Regions from separate parts of the Homo sapiens genome. Here region 1 is linked to region 2. Evidence: promoter capture Hi-C in 16 types of primary human blood cells and fetal thymus (Javierre and others, 2016). All regions are on one chromosome and are shown on one strand. The core of a region is centred on a gene start or on the middle of the fragment in contact, and the rest is flanking DNA. Distances in the headings are between cores, read along the strand shown. Region 1 overlaps HAUS6 (HAUS augmin like complex subunit 6). Region 2 holds the start of RRAGA (Ras related GTP binding A).

Evidence for each region. Contacts are between HindIII fragments. The CHiCAGO score rates a contact against its expected background, and 5 or more counts as called.
Region 1: a contact is called between a fragment that was not itself captured here and the fragment with the promoter of RRAGA in region 2, in 1 of 17 cell types (neutrophils). The highest score is 6.0, in neutrophils.

Annotation. Positions count from the first base shown.
Region 1 is chr9:19,080,894-19,085,736 of GRCh38, forward strand. HAUS6 (HAUS augmin like complex subunit 6) reads right to left here. Exons shown (of 17, transcript NM_017645.5): 8 at 1,980-2,150. Among named protein-coding and RNA genes, the nearest start is that of HAUS6, 20 kb to the right of the region's middle. The HindIII fragment of the contact is 3,053 bases long and covers 1,955-4,843 here.
Region 2 is chr9:19,047,431-19,052,881 of GRCh38, forward strand. It overlaps RRAGA (Ras related GTP binding A), which reads left to right and starts at 1,997. Exons shown (of 1, transcript NM_006570.5): 1 at 1,997-3,595. The coding sequence starts at 2,230. The coding sequence ends at 3,171. It also overlaps a transcript of SAXO1 not described here. RefSeq lists an enhancer at 1,937-2,458 and a silencer at 2,066-2,255. The HindIII fragment of the contact is 15,757 bases long and covers 1-5,451 here.

The DNA of each region.
Region 1 (4,843 bases), core at 2,231-4,730, 35 kb after region 2:
GAAACCCTGTCTCTACTAAAAATACAAAATTAGCTGGGCGTGGTGGCACATGCCTGTAATCACAGCTACTCCAGAGGCTGAGGCAGGAGAATCGCTTGAACCCAAGAGGCAGAGGTTGCAGTGAGCCGAGATTGTGCCATTGTACTCCAGCCTGGGCAATAAGAGTGAAACTCCATCTCAAACAAACAAACAAAAAAAAAAGCGGGGGGAAAAAAATCAAATACCCCCAAACATAAAATGACGTAAATAATTTTGGCCCAGTGAAAACTACTAGGAAAGAGTAACATGCCTTGCTACATTTTTTGCTACATTTTTATATTACACAAAAGGTTGAAAACTAGAATAAAAGAAATGTTAATAGATGGAAAGAAAAATAAAGATTGAGCAGAAACAGCAGGTTTAGTGAAAAGACCATAAATTCATTTTTTAACAGAAGTTACAAATCAATGACCCCTAAAGGCTGTATCTGTACTTAAATATGTTTCTTTGGCTTGCACATTTCTATGTCTTAAAATCATTTGAATTAGTTGCCAATTTTTTAATTTTAATTTTAATTTTTTTTTTTGAGGCAGAATCCCACTCTGTCTCCCAGGCTGGGTGCAGTGGCTCAATCTTGGCTCATTGCAGCCTCCGACCCAAGCATTCAAGCGATCCTCCCACCTCAGCCTCCCAAGTAGCTGGGACTACAGATGTGCACCACCATGCCCAGCTAATTTTTGTATTTTTAGTAGAGACAGGGTTTCATCATGTTGGCCAGGCTGGTCTCAATACCTGACCGCAAGTGATCTACCCTCCTCAGCTTCCCAAAGTGTTGGGATTATAGGTGTGAGCCACCATACCCAGACAGTTTCCAATACTTTTTAAATCATAGATTTCACACAAAAATTATGGGCCAGGCACACTGGCTCACGCCTGTAATCCCAGCACTTTGGGGGCCGAGGCAAGAGGATCATTTGAGGTCAGGAGCTCTAAGCCGGCCTGGCCAACATGGTGAAACCCCGTCTCTACTAAAGAAGTGTCTCTCTTCAGAGAGTCACAACAATATTTTATCTTTGTATCTCTCCAGTATATAATAGATGCTTGATGAATTGTGTTTTCTAAGAAAACAAAAAAGTAAGCTATCCAGATAATGTCCCATAAGCAAGTGGAAATAACTGGATGGAGTTTGGGTTGATGAGGAGAGACTGCTGAAGTCATGAAATTGGTAAGAAAATACAAATACATTTATAATGACGGAAAGAAAAAGAGGGCATTAAAAGAACCATGGAGAACATTATTTAATGTTGCTTTACAAGCAACACTTAACAGCATCAAGATAAAACACAAACCAGGGGATGGAGACTTTTTAAAAGGACATTTGGCAATTAGGAGATCACTGTTGTTGCCTTTGAGAATTTATAATGAACTAGTACAGTATCATCTTCCTACTAAGAAACTTCATACTGTCTGTACTATATGATGTAGTACTGTACAGGTAAGGGGCAATTAATAAAAGTGAATATAAATATACACACCTTTAACAGTATCACTCCTTATGAAAGTTTTACTAAACACACTCATAGAAATAAATTCTGGCCGGGTGCGGTGGCTCACGCCTGTAATCCCAGCACTTTGGGAGGCCAAGGTGGGTGGATCACCTGAGGTCAGGAGCTCGAGACCAGCCTGACCAACATGGAGAAACCCCGTCTACTAAAAATACAAAATTAGCTGGGTGTGGTGGCACATGCCTGTAATCCCAGCTACTCGGGAGGCTGAGGCAGGAGAATCTCTTGAACCTGGGAGGCGGAGGTTGCAGTGAGCTGAAACCACGCCACGCCATTGCACTCCAGCCTGGGCAATAAGAGCAAAATTCTGTCTCAAAAAAAAAACAAAAAACAAAAAACAAAAAACAAATTCTGAAAGCAGAAGAACATTGCAAGAAAATATACAATTACATGATAGGAGTTTTCTCAAAAGCTTCCTTAATATCAAATGCTTACCTGAAACATTTGTTTCTCAATTTTGTCAAGTAAGAGCCTTGGAATATTAATAGCAACATTAGTTCCATCTAAAGCATATTGGTTAACAAGACTAAGGACCGAACTAACAACTTCTCTCTCTTTTTCCAAAAACATGAGCGTTTCATTCACTGAAGCCCACAAAGACCGAACCTTTGGAAACAGAAACAAAATATTAAAGTCCACACATAATCTGTACATATTTTAAAAATGTAAATGTATGTTCACTCTTAGTAACAAATTTCCTAGAATGATTTCTAGTAAGAAAATTAAATAATTATACTTTAATAGTTTAAAAGTCCCTTTGGATATTATTTCCAAAGGGAATTTTTAAAAAAATGTATCAGGAGAATCTAGCTCACTATAATTTTCAAACAAATCTAAGAATTTTTTTGTTTTCAGAGATGGGGTCTTACTATGTTGCCCAGGCCAGACTCAAACTCCTGGGCTCAAGCAATCTTCCCACATCAGCCTCCCAAGTAGCTGGGACTACAGGCACGCACCACTGCACCCAGCTCCAAATCTAAGAAATCTTATACAAGATACAATTAGCATTTTCTATATGCTGACATGTAATTAATCGAATGAAGATCATTCAGGGAGAAATAATTTTAAAAATTTTTCAAGAGAAGCCGGGCGCAGTGGCTCACGTCTGTAATCCCAGCCCTTTGGGAGGCCGAGGCAAGCAGATCACGAGGTCAGGAGATAGAGACCATCCTGGCTAACACGGTGAAACCCCGTCTCTAATAAAAATACAAAAACTTAGCCAGGCGTGGTGGCAGGTGCCTGTAATCCCAGCTACTCGGGAGGCTGAGGCAGAAGAATGGTGTGAACCCGGCAGGCGGAGCTTGCAGTAAGCCAAGATCGCGCCACTGCACTCCAGCCTAGGGGACAGAGCAAGACTCCATCTCAAAAAAAAAAAAAAAATTTTTTTTCAAGAGAAAAAAACTACTACATCTCAATTTTAAGTCATTCAGTTTGAGGAAGTTAAAGTGTAAAAAATTATGCCTCATTAAAAGCAAAAAATCTTAGGCATATACTAATCTATATTCATTAAAATTGATATACAAGAATATTTAGGCACGCACAGTGGCGCATACCTGTAATCCCAGCTACTCAGAAGGCTGAGGTAAAAGGATCCCTTAAGCCCAGGATCCTTGCAAAAAAAAAAAAAAAAAGAATACTCATAGAATGTCTATTTGTAACAATCAAAAAGTAGAATCAATCCAAAGGTCCATCCAGAGTAAAAAGGGTACATTGGTGCTATATTCATAAAATAGAACACTAAGCAGCAATGAGAATAAACATACTACAATTACACACAACAGCATGGATAAATATCATAAACAATGTTGAGCCAAAGTCAGACACAAAAGAATATATTCTATATACTGGCATTTATATGAAGTTCAAAAACAGGCAAAACTAATCTTTAGTGTAACATGTGAGGGCACTGTTTCCCCGTGGGGGCAAACAGTGTAAACTAAACAGGTTCAAGGAGGATTCTAGGGTGCTGGTAACATCCTATTCCTTAAATGATGATGGTTACATGGACTTGTTCACTTTGTGAAAATTTGTCAAGCTATATACTTATGAGTTACACATTTCTTGTATATATGTTATGCATTAACAGAATTTACAAAAGAGGGAGGGAGGTGGAGAAATATAATTATACACATGTTCTTCCTGCACGATAAAAATACAATATTAAATATCTCTAATTAGTTCACTTTTTTTCTTTTTTCTTTTTTTTTTTTTTTGAAACAAGGTCTCACTCTGTCACCCAGGCTGGAGTGCAGTGGCACAATCTTGGCTCACTGCAACCTCTGCCTCCCAGGTTCAAGTGATTCTTGTGCCTCAGTCACCCAAATAGCTGGGACTACAGGTGAGTACCACCACACCAGACTACTTTTTTATTTTTGGTAGAGACAGGGTTTCACCATGTTGGCCAGGCTGGCCTCAAACTCCTGGCCTCAAGTGATCCAACCATATCGGCCTCCCAAAGTGCTCACAGGCGTGAGCCACTGTACCCCCGCCTCTTTTTTTTTTCTTTTTTAAGACGGGTCTCGCTCTGTTGCCCAGGCTACAGTCCACTGGCACAACCAGAGCACACTGCAGCCTTGAGCTCCTGGGCTCAAACAATCCTCCTGCCTCAGCCTCCTGAGTAGGTGAAACTATAGGTGTGTGCCACCCTAAATATCTCTGACATGTTGTATGGCAAGGTAAAGTTGTTCCCAAAGGAAGACTCATTGGCTAGCAGTCTAGAGGTCTCACAGAATGGCATTTCCTTGATGAATCTGTAATTGTCCAGGATCTGGTTCTCATATTTTCCAAGTCTAGATTTTTATCTTGACAATGGCTCAAAGTTGACTGTACTCAGGGAAAACAAATATGAACCAAACTCAGAAGAGACTGATGTGAAAACTTTAATAGGTTCTGCAAATTATTTTAATTATATAATTTGCAATCAGAGATTCATTAAATGGAAAATTCCATGAAGGAAGTGACTTTGCCTTGCCTGTTCTCCTCATTGTTGTAGCCCTAATGTCTACGAGATACCTAGCACATATCAGATGATCAATACATTCACTGAATAAAAATATTTCCTGAAGAGGGCGCTAACCTTTACAGGTGACAATGTGCCTTGGAAGCCAAATTTATACCCACAGCAGCTTGGCATGGCAATCACAGAATCACAACAAAGAGCTTGAGAGAGATTTTATCCAAAAAAAAAAAAAAAGAAAACCTAAGAAAATACTTAACTCACATCAAAGCCAAACTCTGGAGGCCTCAGATCATTTTCATTTGTCAGAATCCTCCCTCCTGCCAAACCAGACTCATTTTGA
Region 2 (5,451 bases), core at 747-3,246:
TCACATGACAGAATAGAGGAAATACATCATCAAACAATTCAAGAACATTGTTTAGAATTCAAGGGCATGGTTTCCAAATTAAAAGACACATTGGAGAGTCCAGTACAATGCAAATTTGGGCTCAACAATGCCAATTATCATTAAGTTTCAGAACACTAGAATAAGAAAATTTCGAATATGTTTTTAGAGAGGAAAGAATAGATCAAAACCAAGAAGCAGGCATCAGACTACTGGCTGCTAAAAGACGATGGAGCAACAGAGCAATGCCTCCAAGACTCTGAGGAAAAATTATGTCCAACCAATCAAGTGTGAGGGTAAAAACAAAGAAATTTTCAGACATCCAATCTCTTGAAATTTTTACTCTCCTCATACTTTTTATCTGGAAACTATTGGAACATGTGTTCCACCAAATGAGCCAAAAATGAGAAGATGTGAAATCAGGAAAAAGAATACCCAACTCGAAAGAACGGGGAAGGGAAACCCCAGAATGGTGGTGAAAGGCGATCAGATAAGAAGGCTCCAGAAGAGGTAGCACCAAGGAGATGAAACTGAATACATTGAGAGGAGATTTTCCACATACTATATTGTATTATGGAATTTCACTCTATGATTTCCATAAACTACAGCAAAGGCCATTTTTGAACTTCTTTTACTGCACACGTTAACAGTAGGAATTAAAATATTTTTTGAATAAATGAAAGAATGGAATACCTGAATTTGTACAGTACAGTATACACTTTGATAAGGGCTTTAGGCCAGGCACGGTGGCTCACGCCTGTAATCCCACACTTTAGGAGGCCGAGGCAGGTGGCTGGCTTGAGTTCCAGACCAGCCTGGCCAACATAGTGAAACCCCGTCTCCACTAAAAATACAAAAATTAGCCGGGCGTGGTGGCAGGTGCCCACAATCCCAGCTATTTGGGGGACTGAGGCAGGAGAATCGCTTGAACTCAGGAGGCGTAGGTTGCAGTGAGCTGAGATCGCGCCACTGCACTCCAGCCTGGGCAACAGAGTGAGACTCCGTCTCAAAAGAAAAAAAAAGGACTTTAAGGTAGATACAGAGGCTTCAGTATCCTGATGACTCTCATTCATTCTGTATGAACGATACTGGCGACACTGATTCACTCATCTACTTGAAGACCAAGAGCAGAATCATATTATGCTTTGAGAGGGGCACAGGGTAGCCTATTGTTAGGCAAATAGACCGCAGCAAGATTGTCTAAAACCAAATTCCATTTCATCATTTAGTATCTGTGTAACTTGGTCAAGTGACTTAACCTCTCTAACCTTTGATTCCCTAACTTGAAAATAGGGTTATTAATTCACAGGGTTACTGTGAGGATGGAACTAATGCCTGGGATTCCACATTATCATTTCCTCGAGCTTTGGAATTCTAATTATAAATTCTAAAGTCTGAGATTACGGAAAAGCAGATGTGAGAAAGGAATTAAAAGCACCCACTGGAAGCCAGGATGTCTCCTAGGAGGGACTTGCTATTACCTAGCTGCGCAGCAACAGGCAATCGCTTGCCTACAAGTCTCACTTTCCGCGCCTGCACAGTCTCCATCTGCCCTGCCCTTGTACTCACTGGGCCGGGCAAGCTGGGGAGGCCTAAGCGGACTGGGAAGTTAGGCTTTCCCTCCACTTCACCAGTCGGCTGCCCCTGCGGAAACCGGCCCGACACACCTCGCTCCTAAAGCCAGTTGCGGTGGTGGTGGCGGTTGGGGCTTTTTTTGGCCACGAGAGGGCAGCATTTCCCCCGGCCAACCACACACGTACCCCTAGCAACAGCAAACCCAGCTGCAACAGAACAAAAGACCGAAGTCCTCGAGCTTCCCTTCCATCTTAGGGCTCACGCCGCCCCGGTTAGGTTTCATTAGAGCAGCGGCTTTTCAAGGCTCGTCGGGCACGGAGGGCGGAGCGAGGGAGCTCTCGCGAGATCGCCGCCGGAAGTGGGTGGTGGCGGGGACGCAGCGGCTCCCTCCCGGAAAGCGAGCGTATCTCCCGAGCCGTTGCCACTGACAGCCGCGGGCGCTCCCATCTGAGTAAGAGCCAGCCCGTCCGCGGCCTCTCCAGCCCCGGGTTCGCGCTCTCGACTCTCCTGCCTGCCCAGCTGCGCGGCGGAGCGGAGCGAGGCGCGGCCTGCGAGTCCCCGGCAGCCCCCGACCCCTCCCTCGGCGCTGCGTGTAGGCCGCGCCCTCAGGCCCAGTCCGCGGTGCCCCGGCGGGTGATGCCAAATACAGCCATGAAGAAAAAGGTGCTGCTGATGGGGAAGAGCGGGTCGGGGAAGACCAGCATGAGGTCGATAATCTTCGCCAATTACATTGCTCGCGACACCCGGCGCCTGGGGGCCACCATTGACGTGGAACACTCCCACGTCCGATTCCTAGGGAACCTGGTGCTGAACCTGTGGGACTGTGGCGGTCAGGACACCTTCATGGAAAATTACTTCACCAGCCAGCGAGACAATATCTTCCGTAACGTGGAAGTTTTGATTTACGTGTTTGACGTGGAGAGCCGCGAACTGGAAAAGGACATGCATTATTACCAGTCGTGTCTGGAGGCCATCCTCCAGAACTCTCCTGACGCCAAAATCTTCTGCCTGGTGCACAAAATGGATCTGGTTCAGGAGGATCAGCGTGACCTGATTTTTAAAGAGCGAGAGGAAGACCTGAGGCGTCTGTCTCGCCCGCTGGAGTGTGCTTGTTTTCGAACGTCCATCTGGGATGAGACGCTCTACAAAGCCTGGTCCAGCATCGTCTACCAGCTGATTCCCAACGTTCAGCAGCTGGAGATGAACCTCAGGAATTTTGCCCAAATCATTGAGGCCGATGAAGTTCTGCTGTTCGAAAGAGCTACATTCTTGGTTATTTCCCACTACCAGTGCAAAGAGCAGCGCGACGTCCACCGGTTTGAGAAGATCAGCAACATCATCAAACAGTTCAAGCTGAGCTGCAGTAAATTGGCCGCTTCCTTCCAGAGCATGGAAGTTAGGAATTCCAACTTCGCTGCTTTCATCGACATCTTCACCTCAAATACGTACGTGATGGTGGTCATGTCAGATCCGTCGATCCCTTCTGCGGCCACTCTGATCAACATTCGCAATGCCCGGAAACACTTTGAGAAGCTGGAGAGAGTGGATGGCCCCAAGCACAGTCTCCTTATGCGTTGAATATTGCCAAATGCTCTTTCTGAAAATGCTGAATTGCCTTTTTTGTTTGCATCCTTTATTTTTAATATTCATAATGTCGTGTGCTTAAAAGTGGGCTTTGAAGTGTGTGCTGCTTACTCCTTTCATCTTTCTCCCCGCTTCCCCAGTCTTTAAACATTGGACGCTATTTACTCAGCTACCCAGTAGAGCTTGAAGCTGACCTTTCTGAGAAGTTGGTATGGTGTAACACTAAAGTAGGTGGTTCGTGTGTGTTCTCATTACCTGGTTATGATAGATATGCACATCAAAGCCTTTACCAGTATCTTCCTGTATTCCGTATCAGATTGCAAAGACGGAATGTTACTATTTTATCAGCAAGGTATTAAAATGCATTTATAAATTCTTCTTGGCTTCATTCATGAATAAACGTGTTAGCAATTTAAAACATGTCCTTATTTGAAATAACTTGAAAGTGCTTAATATGCAAATCTAAAAATTCTGACTGCCCACAAGTATTGCTTGACTGGCAAATTTGATTCTGTGAATTTAGCCCCCAGCACTTTAGTGATGTTTGGTAACAGCTGTAGAAGCGCTTATGCTATGGACTGAAGCTAGACCACCTGAGTTAGTATTCTGGTCCCTTCACTTACTAGCTCTGTGAACATGGGCAAATACTTAATTTCATTACACTTGTTTCCTCATTGGTAAAATGTGGGTCAGAATACTACTTTATAGCCAGTCGTGGTGGCTCACACCTGTAATTCCAGCACTTTGGAAGGCTGAAGTGGGAGGATCACCTGAGATCAGGAGTTCGAGACCAGCCTGGGCAATATAGAGAGACCCTCTCTCTACAAAAAAAAATTTTTTTTCATTAGCTAGGCGTAGTGGTGCGTGCCTACAGTCCTAGCTGCTTGGGAGGCTGAGGAGAGAGGATTGCTTGAGTCCAGGAGGTAGAGGCTGCAGTGAGGCATAATTGTGTCACTGGCCTCCAGTTTGGGTGACAAAGCAAGACCCTATCTCAAAAACAACAATAAAAAACCACTTGATAGGATGTTTAAAAGGATTAAATTCAACATGGTAAGTATTTAGGAATGGTGCCTAGCGCATAGCATACTCTGTTAACTACCATTACTACCTACTGAGCCATTCTTCCCCAAATTACTGGATATGAAACCTATTTGAATATTTGATCCCTTACTAAATGTCAGGTGTTCTTAAGCACTTGTGCATTTATCTTACTGAATCCTCACAACCTATGTGGTAGGTTACTTTGATCGCTATTTTAGCAGATGAGCAAACTATGATCTTATTAAGGTCATACAGCTAAACCCAGGCAATCTGACTACTGACTCTCCTAATCATTACACCCCATTACTTCCATTGAAAAGTTAACCATAAGAGTCATAGCTTTTTATTTATTTTTGGTTTGTTTGTTTGAGACGGAGTCTCGCTCTGTTGCCCAGGCTTGAGTGCAATTGCGCGATCTCACTGCAACCTCCGCCTCCCAGGTTCAAGCCATTCTCCTGCCTCAGCCTCCCAAGTAGCTGGGACTACAGGCATGTGCCACCACGCCCAGCTCATTTTTGGTATTTTTTAGTAGAGACGGGGTTTCACCACTTTGGCCAGGCTGGTCTGGAACTCCCGACCTCAAGTGATCCACCCATCTCAGCCTCCCAAAGTGCTGGATTACAGCCATAAGCCACTGCACCCGGCAATTTTTTTTGTTCTTATAACTTGCACATATCAGCACTGATGGGTCCTAGCTTTTTAAATGTAGATTATTCCTTCATATAATTCCAAATTTACATAGTGGGTAAGCTGAAGCCCAGGAAGCTAAGTGACCTCCCTCAAGGAATAGAGTTTCACTCATTTTGGGCAAGATCACTTTCCCATTTGTATTTCTCTAGAAATTGGATAATACTGAAACAGATTCTTAGATCACCTACTTTTAAGGAAGGATTCTGAGGTTCCTAATTTGGATTGGCAATGTGGTGTAGTAAAATGGACAAACAGATCTAAAATGTCCCATTCCACTTCCAGCAATAGCTGCCTTAAGGATTGTTTGAAAAGAAATCTAAGTATTTTAGAGCGAAGAGACCTGTGATCAACTCTAAGCCTTTCATTTTACACTCGAGGTGCTATCTTTGTATGGACAGTAAACATAAGTGATAGGGCTTTAGAATTTCTAAGGCTTTATAAAATTATTTAATGTTCATTAAACCCTTTCTAGCAGCAGATGTGGATGACGCTACTCATGAAGAGTAAGAAGCTATTCAGGTGTAATTTATAAAAATTACCTAA